Linked DNA regions of Homo sapiens: all the other regions are linked to region 1. Evidence: promoter capture Hi-C in 16 types of primary human blood cells and fetal thymus (Javierre and others, 2016). All regions are on one chromosome and are shown on one strand. Each heading gives the region's core, a stretch centred on a gene start or on the middle of the fragment in contact. The rest is flanking DNA. Distances are from core to core; before and after follow the strand shown.

Region 1 (3,392 bases), core at 893-3,392:
GGCCTCAGGAAAGCCCCCCTCCCTGGGAGGTCTGAGCCCTGCGTGGGCGGGAGGCTCCGAGTTCCCTCCCCCAGGGGTTCTCCCCTAACCTCTCTGCATCCGCATGTTCCCAGCTCAGCCGGGGTCATGTGCAGCACATCTGGAGGCCCCATCCCCGAGAGGGTCCTGGAAGCCGAGAGCTGCCCCACCCAGAGGCCCCTCCACCCCTTCAGCTCCTGCCAGCTTCCCTCTGACGCTCTCCCAAGTCTGCCTTCCAGGGTCCCTGAGTCCATGCCAGGAAGGGGCGTTCCCCCGCCCTCACTCCGTCTCAAAGAGAGCTCAGCCTCAGCCTTTGTCCTGGCCGCTCTGGGCTCCCTGCCTCTCCCTCCGCAGGCGAAGCTGGGCACTCGGCCATGAGCCTGTCTCCCCGGGGCAGAGTCCAGCTCCCCTCTCCCTCCCCATCCTCTCAGGCCTGGCAGACCTCCCACTCCCTGGCTTGAGCTTTTTGTCCATGAAAAGAGTCCAGAACACCAGGAAGCCCCGCTGGGCCTGGAGGGAAGCGGGGTACCGCAGGCCAGTGGGGGTCGCAGCACCCTGCCTCTGGGCGGCCTTTGTTCCTTCCTTTTCAGGCATGATGTGCACTGTGCGTGCCTCTCCCTCCTCTGGGCGGTCAGGGGTGGAAGAAAGGCCTGGGGTGTGTGGGGGGAAACTGGGGCCTGGGGCCTGGAGCTTAGCACCGGCAACACCCAGAGATTGCCTGCTGGAGCCCCGCCAGGCTGGGCTGTGAGGCTGAGGCAGCAGAGAGGCTTCCCAGGGTTCCCACCCCTCCCTTTGGGGTCCTGAGCTGGAAGAAAGATGCCTTTACTGGGCCTGTGGCGCCAGACCCTCAGCCCAGGCAGCAATCCCAGCACAATTGTCACTGCCCGTTCCAGAAGGCCGGGCATGGTCTGGACCCTGCCCCATGGGGCTGCCCTTTGGGCCCCAGCAGCCTGCACTCCCTGGTGGCCTTGCCTCGTGGCTCCCTGACGCTGTGTGGCTGGAATTATTGGGACAAGAATTCCCACTTTGCAGCAGGCGCAAAGGGGGTGGCCCCTGGCCGGGCTGGGATGCGGGGCCTGTGAGGCTGCAGAGCCGAAAGGCCAGCCATGTCGTGGGACGGAGGAGCAGGGCTTGCGTCTGGGGCCAGCTGCGCTTCGCCTGCCCCAGCCGTCCCCAGAAGCCTGTTGCTGACCCGCACCCCAAGCTTGGCCTGGGGACCCTCTTCCTTGCCTTTCAGGCCACGTAGAGGCCCCACCTGTTTCCGTCCTGGGGAAGCCTCCTCTGGCCTCCGCAGCCCAAGCCTCTGTTCCCCTCAGGCCGAGGGGGCAGCAGGCGCGGCTGAGGCCCTGGGCTGGGAGGTATGGACCTTTGGCCCGGTCTGTGCTGCTTCTCCTGTTTCTCGGCTCGGTGTGACCTGGGCCGTCCCTCCCCTTCCCCGTTCCTGCGTCCTCACCTTCACCTCAGTACAGGGCCCAGGTGAGGTGGATCTGACTGGGCCTCAAGGGTAGTTCTGGCCTGGGTCAGCTGCGTGTCTCTGGAGCTGACCTGCGCTGGCTCAGCGCCGCAGGCTGGCGGATCCTTGCTGGCCGGGAGGGCATCCCGCAGGCCAGCCTGGTCCTCACCAGCCCTGGGAGTTGGCGCTCAGGGCCCTGCTCCACAAACAGGTGCTGACCCTCGGCTTCCTCCTGAGTCCCCAGCCCGGGCCCCGCGTGGCTCCGCAGCCGACAGTGCCTCATTCCTGCAAGCGAGTCTGGCCTCCTTTCCCGGGCCCGGGAAAAGCGCGGCTCTCCAGCACAGGACCCTCCGAGCCAGCCTCGCCCGCCCACCCCCACGCCAGGTCTCCTGCCTCCACGGCCGGGGGATCCCCTTGCTGAGTGGGCGGGAAGGGGAAGGTGGGCCATAGCCGCGGGGCGCCCGGGCTCAGACCCGGGAGCCGGGGGGCGGTGCTGGTGACTCAGCCGCGCCCGCGTCTCTCACCTGCGCGGGCCGGACGGCGGAAGCTTGGGAGCGGAGGCGAAACCTGTCCGCCCGTGGGCGTGGCCGGTGATGGGCGGGCCCGCCCGGCCTCCCGCCCCTCGTCCCGCCCCGGGGCCCCTACCCCGCGGTCCCGCGGCCCCGCCCGCCTCCGCCTCCGGCTCCCCGCACTCTCCGGGTCCACGCATCGTCCTCCCGCGCGCCCGCCCGCCCATGGCCGGGAAGGTGCGGTCACTGCTGCCGCCGCTGCTGCTGGCCGCCGCGGGCCTCGCCGGCCTCCTACTGCTGTGCGTCCCCACCCGCGACGTCCGGGAGCCGCCCGCCCTCAAGGTGCGCGCCCGGGCACCCAGCGCACGTCTGGGGAGCAGCGGGCCGGGCTTGGAGCCGGGGAGGGGGTGCGGCTGGGAACCTGAGCAGGATCAGCCCGGGACCCCCACCGTGCTCTGCTCCTGGCGGGCTGGGTGGGGTCCCGGGTTCCGCGCTCTGCGCTCCCCGACCGGGTACGCGGAGGGGGCGGGGGGCGGTGGCGCTTCCAGGGCGACGCGGTGCTGAAGGAACAAGTCCCGGGAGTTCCGCGCCCGCCGCCGAGTCCGTCAACGCAGCCCAGGGGCTGTGTCCCCGCTCCCGGGATAGCCCAGCGATGCCCCCTGGGTGCTGCCGGACGCCCGCCCCCAGGCCTGTGCGGGCCCCCAGGGGCACTCCGGGCCACTTCTGCCCTGTGCCGCCGCCCCGGAGGGTGCGGTTAGAGCCACATCGACTGGGTATTCAGCCCAGATGGGGATCCACAAGCCCCAGGACCCAGGGCCCCCGCCAGGACACGAGAGTGGCCCAGAAAGACAGGAGGGCTTGACCGGAGCAGCCCTGGCCGGTCCTCAAAAGGTTGGAGCAGGCTAGCCTGGATCTCCACTCCAGCAGGCCCAGGGACCTCCTGGTCGGCCCCTTTAACCCTTTATTGGGCTTGTAGGGGGGTGGGGTGGAGAGCCAAGTCCCCCAGCCTGATGGGGAGTCAGAAGCAGGGAGCTCTGCGGCCCTGCAGGACGGCCATGTGGCGGTGCACGCGCTGACCTGTTGATGCTCTGGGCTCTGGGGAAGCCTTGGTCGGGATGGACTGGTGCGGCCCTCTCGGAGGCTGGAATTGGCGCCCGGGCCTGGGAGGCTGGTCCCCAGCTTTCCAGGTGGATCCAGGATGCTGGGGCAGGAGCTGGAAAAGGGCATTTACAAGCTCGTGCCACTCAGGTCTGCAGGAAGGCCCACCCAGCACCCCCAACAAGGCAGGGCCAGCCTCTCTCTCTGGCCCTGGCTTGGAGGCCTAGGGAGAGTGTCTTTAGAGCTGACCTGGCTCTGAGGCCCACGGCCAGCCTCGGTGGACCTTCTTCACCTGGGGCCCTGCCTCCTGCATC
Region 2 (3,392 bases), core at 568-3,067, 200 kb after region 1:
CCTGGAGGACGATGGCCGTGGGAAGAGCAGTCAGGCCATCAGCGGGCCCCTTTATCAGACCCCAAAGGGCTGAGTGTGCACCGCCACTCCCTGGGGCCACTCCTGTGTTCCCCCACCCACCTGCTTTAGTTAGGGTCTGGGGGCCCCCGGAGGTGGTGACGCAGGGTGCAGGAAGCCAAGGACAGAGTTCAGAAGCCGGCAGGTGTGGCAACACGTTTAATTCTGTGGCCAGGCTAGCCTGTCTCCAAGGCCTGGTGGACAGCACGTCACCAGAGGCTGCCGCAGGAGCAGGCAGGGCCAGCCCTGCAAGAGGAGTGCAGGCAAAGGCGGGGGCTCTGAAGTGGCTGCTGGAGGCAGCAGGCCCCGGGCTGGGAGTGCTCAGTAGCCGTCGTTAGCCCAGGTGACCTCGTAGTCGGGGTACTTGGCTTTGATTTTCTCAGTTGAAATGGCGTGCTGGGCAGGACCATAGGCCTGGAGAAGAGAAGACGCCTGCTGGCACTACCTGGACCCTTCAACCCGATACCCGGCTCTGGGCATCCAGCCACCAGCCACACCAGAAGCGAGTGTGGGAAAGGGATAGGCAGTGCCTGGGGATGCCAAACCCACCATCCCGACCGCCCTTGGGGGCTCCCCTGGGGAGAGGCGACCTCCACAGGCAAGCAAACCTTGATGGTGGATCCTGGGGCCTGAGGCGCCCAGAGGGACGCACGTGGGTCTCATCTGCTGGTGGTTTTTGTGAAGAGCACAGGTGGGGACTCTGAGCTCCACCCAGGTACTGACTGCCTCTGGGGGCCCAGGGCCCAAAGTGCTGGAGGACAGCTAGAGCCCAGCAAGGCCTCCCAAGGCAGGGAGAGGAGACAGCCGGCCATGTCTGGGGGTGTCCGTCCCACCCCTCAGGTCTGGCGTGTGCTCCATGGGGGAATGCAGGAACACAATGGGCCCTGGAGGGAGGGCTCTGCCGCCGACCCTGGGAGAACCCCAGGAAGCCTGCGTGCTCAGCTGGGGCCACGGGTCAGGGCAGCAGGCTCAGGTGGGCCTCGAAGCTGGTACTGGGGCCTCCGGCAGGGCGGGACGGGGCTGCGGCTCACCATGGAATAGCCGTACACGTGAATCTTCTTGTCCTGACTCTGGTGGGAGATGCGCCCGCCGCCCAGACACTCACAGTCGCAGCCTTGCTTCTGCATGTCGCCCGACACTTTGTCGTAGATGTCCGCTGGGATGGGAGGGCGGCCTCAGGACGTGCCCTGGCCGCCCTTGGAGGCCGCGGGAGGAACTCCCAGCCGAAGGGGTCTGAAATCCCAGCTCTGAACAGCCCCTTCCCCAGGAGAGACGAAGCCCCTTGAGGCTGGGACAGGGATGAATGAGCGAAGGAGGGTGGAACCGGGGAGGGCGCGGGAACTGGGAGACTGCTGGGGAGGGTGTCAGGCCGTGTCACGCCCTTCCCGCCCAGGACCTCAGCCTGGGTCAAACCTAGCAGGGGCAGGACTCGGAGCAGAGCGCAGTCCGCTACGGCCCGCAGCCCCGCCCCCGCCCCGCCAGCCCCGCCCCTGCCTCGTCAGCCCCGTCTCCGTCCCGCCAGCCCCGCCCCCGCCTCGCCAGGCGTGCCCCTGGCATGCCCGCAGGTCCCGCCCTCACCATGGTACTCAGCCCACTTGTAGCCGCGCACGATCTCCTTGCTCTCTGCAGCCGGAGCCCCGGAGCGGGGAGCCGAGTGGACTCGGATCAGCACATACTTGAAGACGCCGTCGGAGTCGATGTCCACATCAGGAATGAGAGCGAGGTCCGCCACCGCCATGTTCCTCCTCCCGGAGTCCCCTCCTCCCACCCGACCCGGGGGCCGCTTGTACTGCGGGAGGCGGGCTCTGCGAGAGCGACGACCAATCCCGTCGGGGAATGCTTCCCAAGGCCCAGCGCCTCAGCCAATTGTACCGCCGACCGAGGCACGTGCTGACCAATCGCAATCCAGTTCCTTGCCGCCTTGCGGCTCCGCCAGCCCCGCTTAAAGGAAACGTGGAATCGGGAATGGGTGGTGATGAAATCCAGCCAACGGAGAAGTTCCTCTCCAGCGGGGTCCGGTGGCACCCTTGGAACGGGGCAGTTAGGCGGCCCGCGAGGCTGGGGCAACGAGGGAGGCCTGAGGGACTTGCCAGCCCTGACCTCCTGTCCCGCACGTAGTCCGAAGACCACCCTCCCCGTGGCCCCCACCGCCCAAAGGCCTCCCTCTCTCCCCCTCCCACCGCCCGAAGGCCTCCCCCCTCCCCGCTCTCCACCGCCCGAAGGCCTCGCTCTCCACCCCCTCCACCGCCCGAAGGACTCCCTCTCTTCCCCGTCCACCGCCCGAAGGCCTCTCCCTTTCTCCTCTCCACCGACCGAAGGCTTCCGTCCCCAACCCCGCTACCGGTACAAGGAGGCAACGGCAGCCGCTACATTCAAGTTCTATTTTACTTGGTTCGAAAGCTCTTGCCCCCTGGAAATTATTCCGGTCCAGGGGCGTTCCCGGCCGGCCCTCAGGGGTGGGGCCGAATGCAGAGGCCCTGGGGTAGGGGGCGCGGGGCGCGGCGGCGGGTGGGCAAGCGGGACGCCTGGCCGGTGCAGACGCGCGGGGACGAGATGGGCGTGCCGGGTGCGAAAGCAGGAGCGGAGGCGGGGGTGCCCAATTTCTCTCACTTGGTGCCCCCTCCCCTGGCTCCGAAGTAGGGCTGGGGACTCCAGGAGGGCCCTTGCGTTTGGCCTCCACCCCTCTCCCGCATACCCCACCCTCCAGAGAGCTCTGGGCGCGGACCAGGGTGCACTTGGGGGACAGGTGGAGGCCGGGCCGCCGGGCTTGCGCCTCCACGCCCGCAGTACGGCGTGCGGCCAGAGCGGGTGTGCGGGGACCTCTCGGGACAGGTCAAGCCCCCTCGGGTGGGCTTCCACGCTTACCAACTAGCTCTCTCCCTCACCTGCTCGCACCACGCTTTGCCCTCCAGGCTCCCACCTGGGAACGCCCCGTCCCTTGGTCCTTCCTCTCCTAGCCAGGTGTCAGCTCTGGCCAGGCCCAGGTGCTCTGCTTCCCCTGTTCAGGTCCCCTGCCCCTTCGGCTGGGAGACTTGCATATCGGCCTGAAGACCTCCCTGCGGTTTTTCCCAGCTCCTGCAGGGCCCAGACTGCAGCGGCTGGAGGCGAAGGGACGGCAGGGCGCGTGGCGTGGTTAGTGTGCTGGCTCCGACCAGCGGGAACGCACTGCGCACCGTCCGCCCTGCCCACCGCCTCGGCGGGACGCGCTCGCGCACACGGACGCACAGAGGTCGACCAGGGTGTTCTCCAGCGAGGAGGCAACACAGCCGCGGGAGGCGGGGCGGGGCGTGTTTAAAGTGACAGACTGGGCTTTGGTTACGTCGGGCTTCTGGACG
Region 3 (3,392 bases), core at 243-2,742, 130 kb before region 1:
GCTGGCACCTGCCCCTCTCGGCACCTGAGACAGTGAGGGAAGGTAGCTGCTGCCGTGAAGAACAAAGATGCTCTGAGCACACACTTGCTGGGGCTGAGCTGAGGGGCACACGGAGGCAGGCCCTGCCCGTGGTCTGGTCAGCTGTCCCTGCCGCCGCTACTTTTCTGGTCTGGGGCTGTAGCCTTGGTCAGGTTCCCAGCTTCCCTCTTGAGAACGCTGAGCAAAGTCTGGGAGCTCTCCAGGATCTGGGGCCAGAGAAGTGAGAAGGTTGTTAATGTTCACCTGTTGGTAAGGTCCTAAGCCCCAGCTGTCCTCACACTCAGGTGCTGGGACCTGGCTGGGGGTGCTGTAGCCAAGGGATCCTGTGTGGGGGAAGGCGGAAGCCCAAGGGGACTGGCAGACGGGGTGGCAGGGCCCTCTTCCCTCCGGAATCTGACCCAAAACACTTCCTCTCCACCCTCAAAGCCAGGCTGGGTTAGCACTGGCCCGTGCTGGGTGCTCTGCCCAAGACCTGGCTCTTCACACTGAGCAGAAATAACCACATGGCTAGCGAGAACCGGATAAAGACCAGGACCCAGGATGCCCCAGGCCCCACAGACAGCCCCACAGTCACTCCCACAGCAGCCTGGGTTCCTCAATGGGCCTGGCCACGCTGCCCCTGCCCGAAATGCCAGCGAGGCACAGACTGCCCACAGCCGGGAGCCCCAGCCGGTCCTGACGCCTTGCCGTGGCAACACCCCTGCCGTGCCTATCCCCTGATGCTCGGCCTGGCCTCCCGAGCTCCACCTTGAGGTAGGCGGCCTCCGTCTCCGCGATGGTCCGGTCGAACTCGTTGCGAGAGGCAATCTTGCGTGCCAGGTTCTCGTTGACGCGGGCCAGCTTCTCTGTCAGCTGCCTCACCTCATTCTGCAGCCGCTGCTTCTCGTCCTCCTCCTCCTGGATCTGCCGGCACAGCTCCTCCCGCTTCTGGCACAGCTCCTCTATGCCTGGGGGCCGGGAGGGGCGGCGCTGTGGGCCCAGGGCAGGAGCGCGGCGGCGGAGGGCGGGCCTCCTTCCACCCGAGGAAGCCAGAGTCAGGCACCACCCCCGAGCGCCCGGCGCGGGGCCTGCGAGCCAGCGAGGGCTCGGGCCACGGACACCCGGCCTCCGGCACGGAGGGCTCTGCTCAGCCGCGCGATGCCCGCAGCGAGGCGGGTCCAGGGGCACCCCGCTGCGAGCCGGGAACCCGGCCCTGCGGCCCTCCCGACCTCCCCGTCCCGGCTGCGCCGCTCACACTTGACCAGCTCGTTGTTGTAGTTCTGCAGCGCCGCGCCCTGCTGGGTCATGGTCAACGCCGCCCGGGGCCCCACCACCCCAACCGCCGCGGAAGCAGCGCTGTCCGCGCCTGCGCACGACTCCCCCACGGCGCGCCGAACTAGCGCGTCATCGCTGAGCGCCTTGTGCGCGTCATGGCTGCGCGTGCAGACGTGCGTCATCGCCGCGCGCCGCGCCGAGCGAATCTCGGAGTCGGTGGGTGCAGATGGCGGCGGCAGTTGTGGTGGCGGAGGGGGACAGCGACTCCCGGCCCGGACAGGAGTTGTTAGTGGCCTGGAACACCGTGAGCACCGGCCTGGTGCCGCCGGCTGCGCTGGGGCTGGTGAGGCCTGGGAAGAGAGGGGCGGCCCCGCGCGGAGTTTCCGGGACCGTACGCGCTTTGGGGCCGCTACCCTCGGGTTCATACGGCTCTGTCCATCATCCGCCTCTGTCCTGTCCTGCCATTTTCCACCACCTTTCCGTTTCGTTTCGTTCAGCTCCGCTGACAGCCCTTCCATAGCTTCGGCCCAACGTCCGGGCAGCACGGACAGGGGGCAGCGGAGTTTTTGCAGCCTCCCCCTCAGCTTCTTCCCTTCCCCGCCTCTCCCCACCTCTATGTTGTGTTCCCCTCGCCTCACGGTTTTCTGCACCCCAGGTGTCTTCCCGGACCAGCGGTGCAGTCCCGCCAAAGGAAGAGGAGCTCCGGGCGGCGGTGGAGGTTCTGAGGGGCCACGGGCTACACTCGGTCCTGGAGGAGTGGTTCGTGGAGGTGCTGCAGAACGATCTGCAGGCCAACATCTCCCCTGAGTTCTGGAATGCCATCTCCCAATGCGAGAACTCTGCGGATGAGCCCCAGTGCCTTTTGCTACTCCTTGACGCTTTTGGCCTGCTGGAGAGCCGCCTGGATCCCTACCTGCGTAGCCTAGAGCTGCTGGAGAAATGGACTCGCCTGGGCTTGCTGATGGGCACTGGTGCTCAGGGGCTGCGAGAAGAAGTCCACACTATGTTGCGCGGAGTCTTGTTCTTTAGCACCCCCAGAACCTTCCAAGAGATGATCCAGCGTCTGTATGGGTGCTTCTTGAGAGTCTATATGCAGAGTAAGAGGAAGGGGGAAGGGGGCACAGACCCGGAACTGGAAGGGGAGCTGGACAGCCGGTATGCCCGTCGCCGGTACTACCGGCTCCTGCAGAGCCCGCTGTGTGCAGGGTGCAGCAGTGACAAGCAACAGTGCTGGTGTCGCCAGGCTCTGGAGCAGTTCCATCAGCTCAGCCAGGTCTTGTGAGTAGTCTGTCCCGATGGCCATGCCCTTGCTCCTTCTGGTTCCCCGCTGCTCCCCTGGGTCCAGCTGGCCTCAGCAGAAAGCTGGTGAGCCGTCCTGATAACCAGGAACATGACAGAGAGAGAGTCCCAGGGATTCCTGTGCAGCGTGTCCTGGACACAGGTGTCTCTCTTCTGTCACTCACCTTCAGTCCCACAGATTCATGCCTTGACCCTGGTAAGGCCCTATGTGGCTTGTGTCTGCAGCAGCAAATTTCTTAGCAACTCCAAACTTCCTGGACTCTGCAGAATTCCACTGTGCCTTTTGTCGATCCTGGGGAGGAATGATTCTCACCCTCGTCGACATTCCTTGCCCTGTAATTGTGAACAGAAGCTTGCTGCTGCTTCTCTCCAGGAAGATCAGGTCACTGTGAGGGCAAGCAGTCTCTTGTTAGTTTGGAGAGGAGAGGGGTTTGTTGTGAGAGACAGGTCCTGTTGTAGTTCTCTAGCAATTGTCATACCCTTGGCCATTTGTGGTGGTTTTGTCACATTGAACGGGGGTGTAGCCATGCAGCTACTTGAGAGGTCTTAGGTGGACTAAAGGTGGACTAAAGGAGTGCTCCTTTTGCTGGCAGGGGTCAGGGAGACCGTGAAGGGCTTCTGTTGGGCTCATCCCTGCAAAAGTTACACGGCAACTTTTCTCATCCTCCTCTTGAGTCCTTTTGTCACTGTAGACCAGAGACTGCACTGAAAGGCACAAACAGTGGCATCTGTACCTCTGCGGCCAGGGTAGCAGTGCAGTTGGTTGTCGTTTCAGAGTTGATCCTAGGAGATAAGGCTAG

The links. Contacts are between HindIII fragments. The CHiCAGO score rates a contact against its expected background, and 5 or more counts as called.
Region 2: the fragment with the promoter of PHPT1 here is called in contact with the fragment with the promoter of ENTPD2 in region 1 in 3 of 17 cell types (naive B cells, M1 macrophages and non-activated CD4 T cells); the score reaches 5.0 in naive B cells.
Region 3: a contact is called between the fragment with the promoter of ANAPC2 here and the fragment with the promoter of ENTPD2 in region 1, in 1 of 17 cell types (naive B cells). The highest score is 6.6, in naive B cells.

Annotation. Positions count from the first base shown.
Region 1 is chr9:137,052,811-137,056,202 of GRCh38, reverse strand. It overlaps ENTPD2 (ectonucleoside triphosphate diphosphohydrolase 2), which reads left to right and starts at 2,142. Exons shown (of 9, transcript NM_203468.3): 1 at 2,142-2,322. The coding sequence starts at 2,206. It overlaps LOC105376327 (a long non-coding RNA gene), which reads right to left. Exons shown (of 2, transcript XR_930455.2): 1 at 3,328-3,392; 2 at 2,828-3,193. RefSeq lists silencers at 1,907-1,986, 2,087-2,156. The HindIII fragment of the contact is 4,509 bases long and covers 2,021-3,392 here.
Region 2 is chr9:136,847,834-136,851,225 of GRCh38, reverse strand. PHPT1 (phosphohistidine phosphatase 1) reads right to left here and starts at 1,817. Exons shown (of 3, transcript NM_014172.6): 1 at 1,636-1,817; 2 at 1,089-1,213; 3 at 202-471. The coding sequence starts at 1,795. The coding sequence ends at 379. It overlaps AJM1 (apical junction component 1 homolog), which reads right to left. Exons shown (of 3, transcript NM_001080482.5): 3 at 2,425-3,392. RefSeq lists silencers at 1,496-1,575, 1,966-2,025, 2,206-2,285, 2,366-2,425, 2,646-2,875 and 1 more and an enhancer at 1,566-1,845. The HindIII fragment of the contact is 15,345 bases long and covers 1-3,392 here.
Region 3 is chr9:137,186,660-137,190,051 of GRCh38, reverse strand. It overlaps ANAPC2 (anaphase promoting complex subunit 2), which reads left to right and starts at 1,492. Exons shown (of 13, transcript NM_013366.4): 1 at 1,492-1,636; 2 at 1,949-2,571. The coding sequence starts at 1,520. SSNA1 (SS nuclear autoantigen 1) reads right to left here and starts at 1,376. Exons shown (of 3, transcript NM_003731.3): 1 at 1,274-1,376; 2 at 787-986; 3 at 1-245. The coding sequence starts at 1,325. The coding sequence ends at 138. RefSeq lists a silencer at 985-1,334 and an enhancer at 1,365-1,584. The HindIII fragment of the contact is 11,278 bases long and covers 1-2,946 here.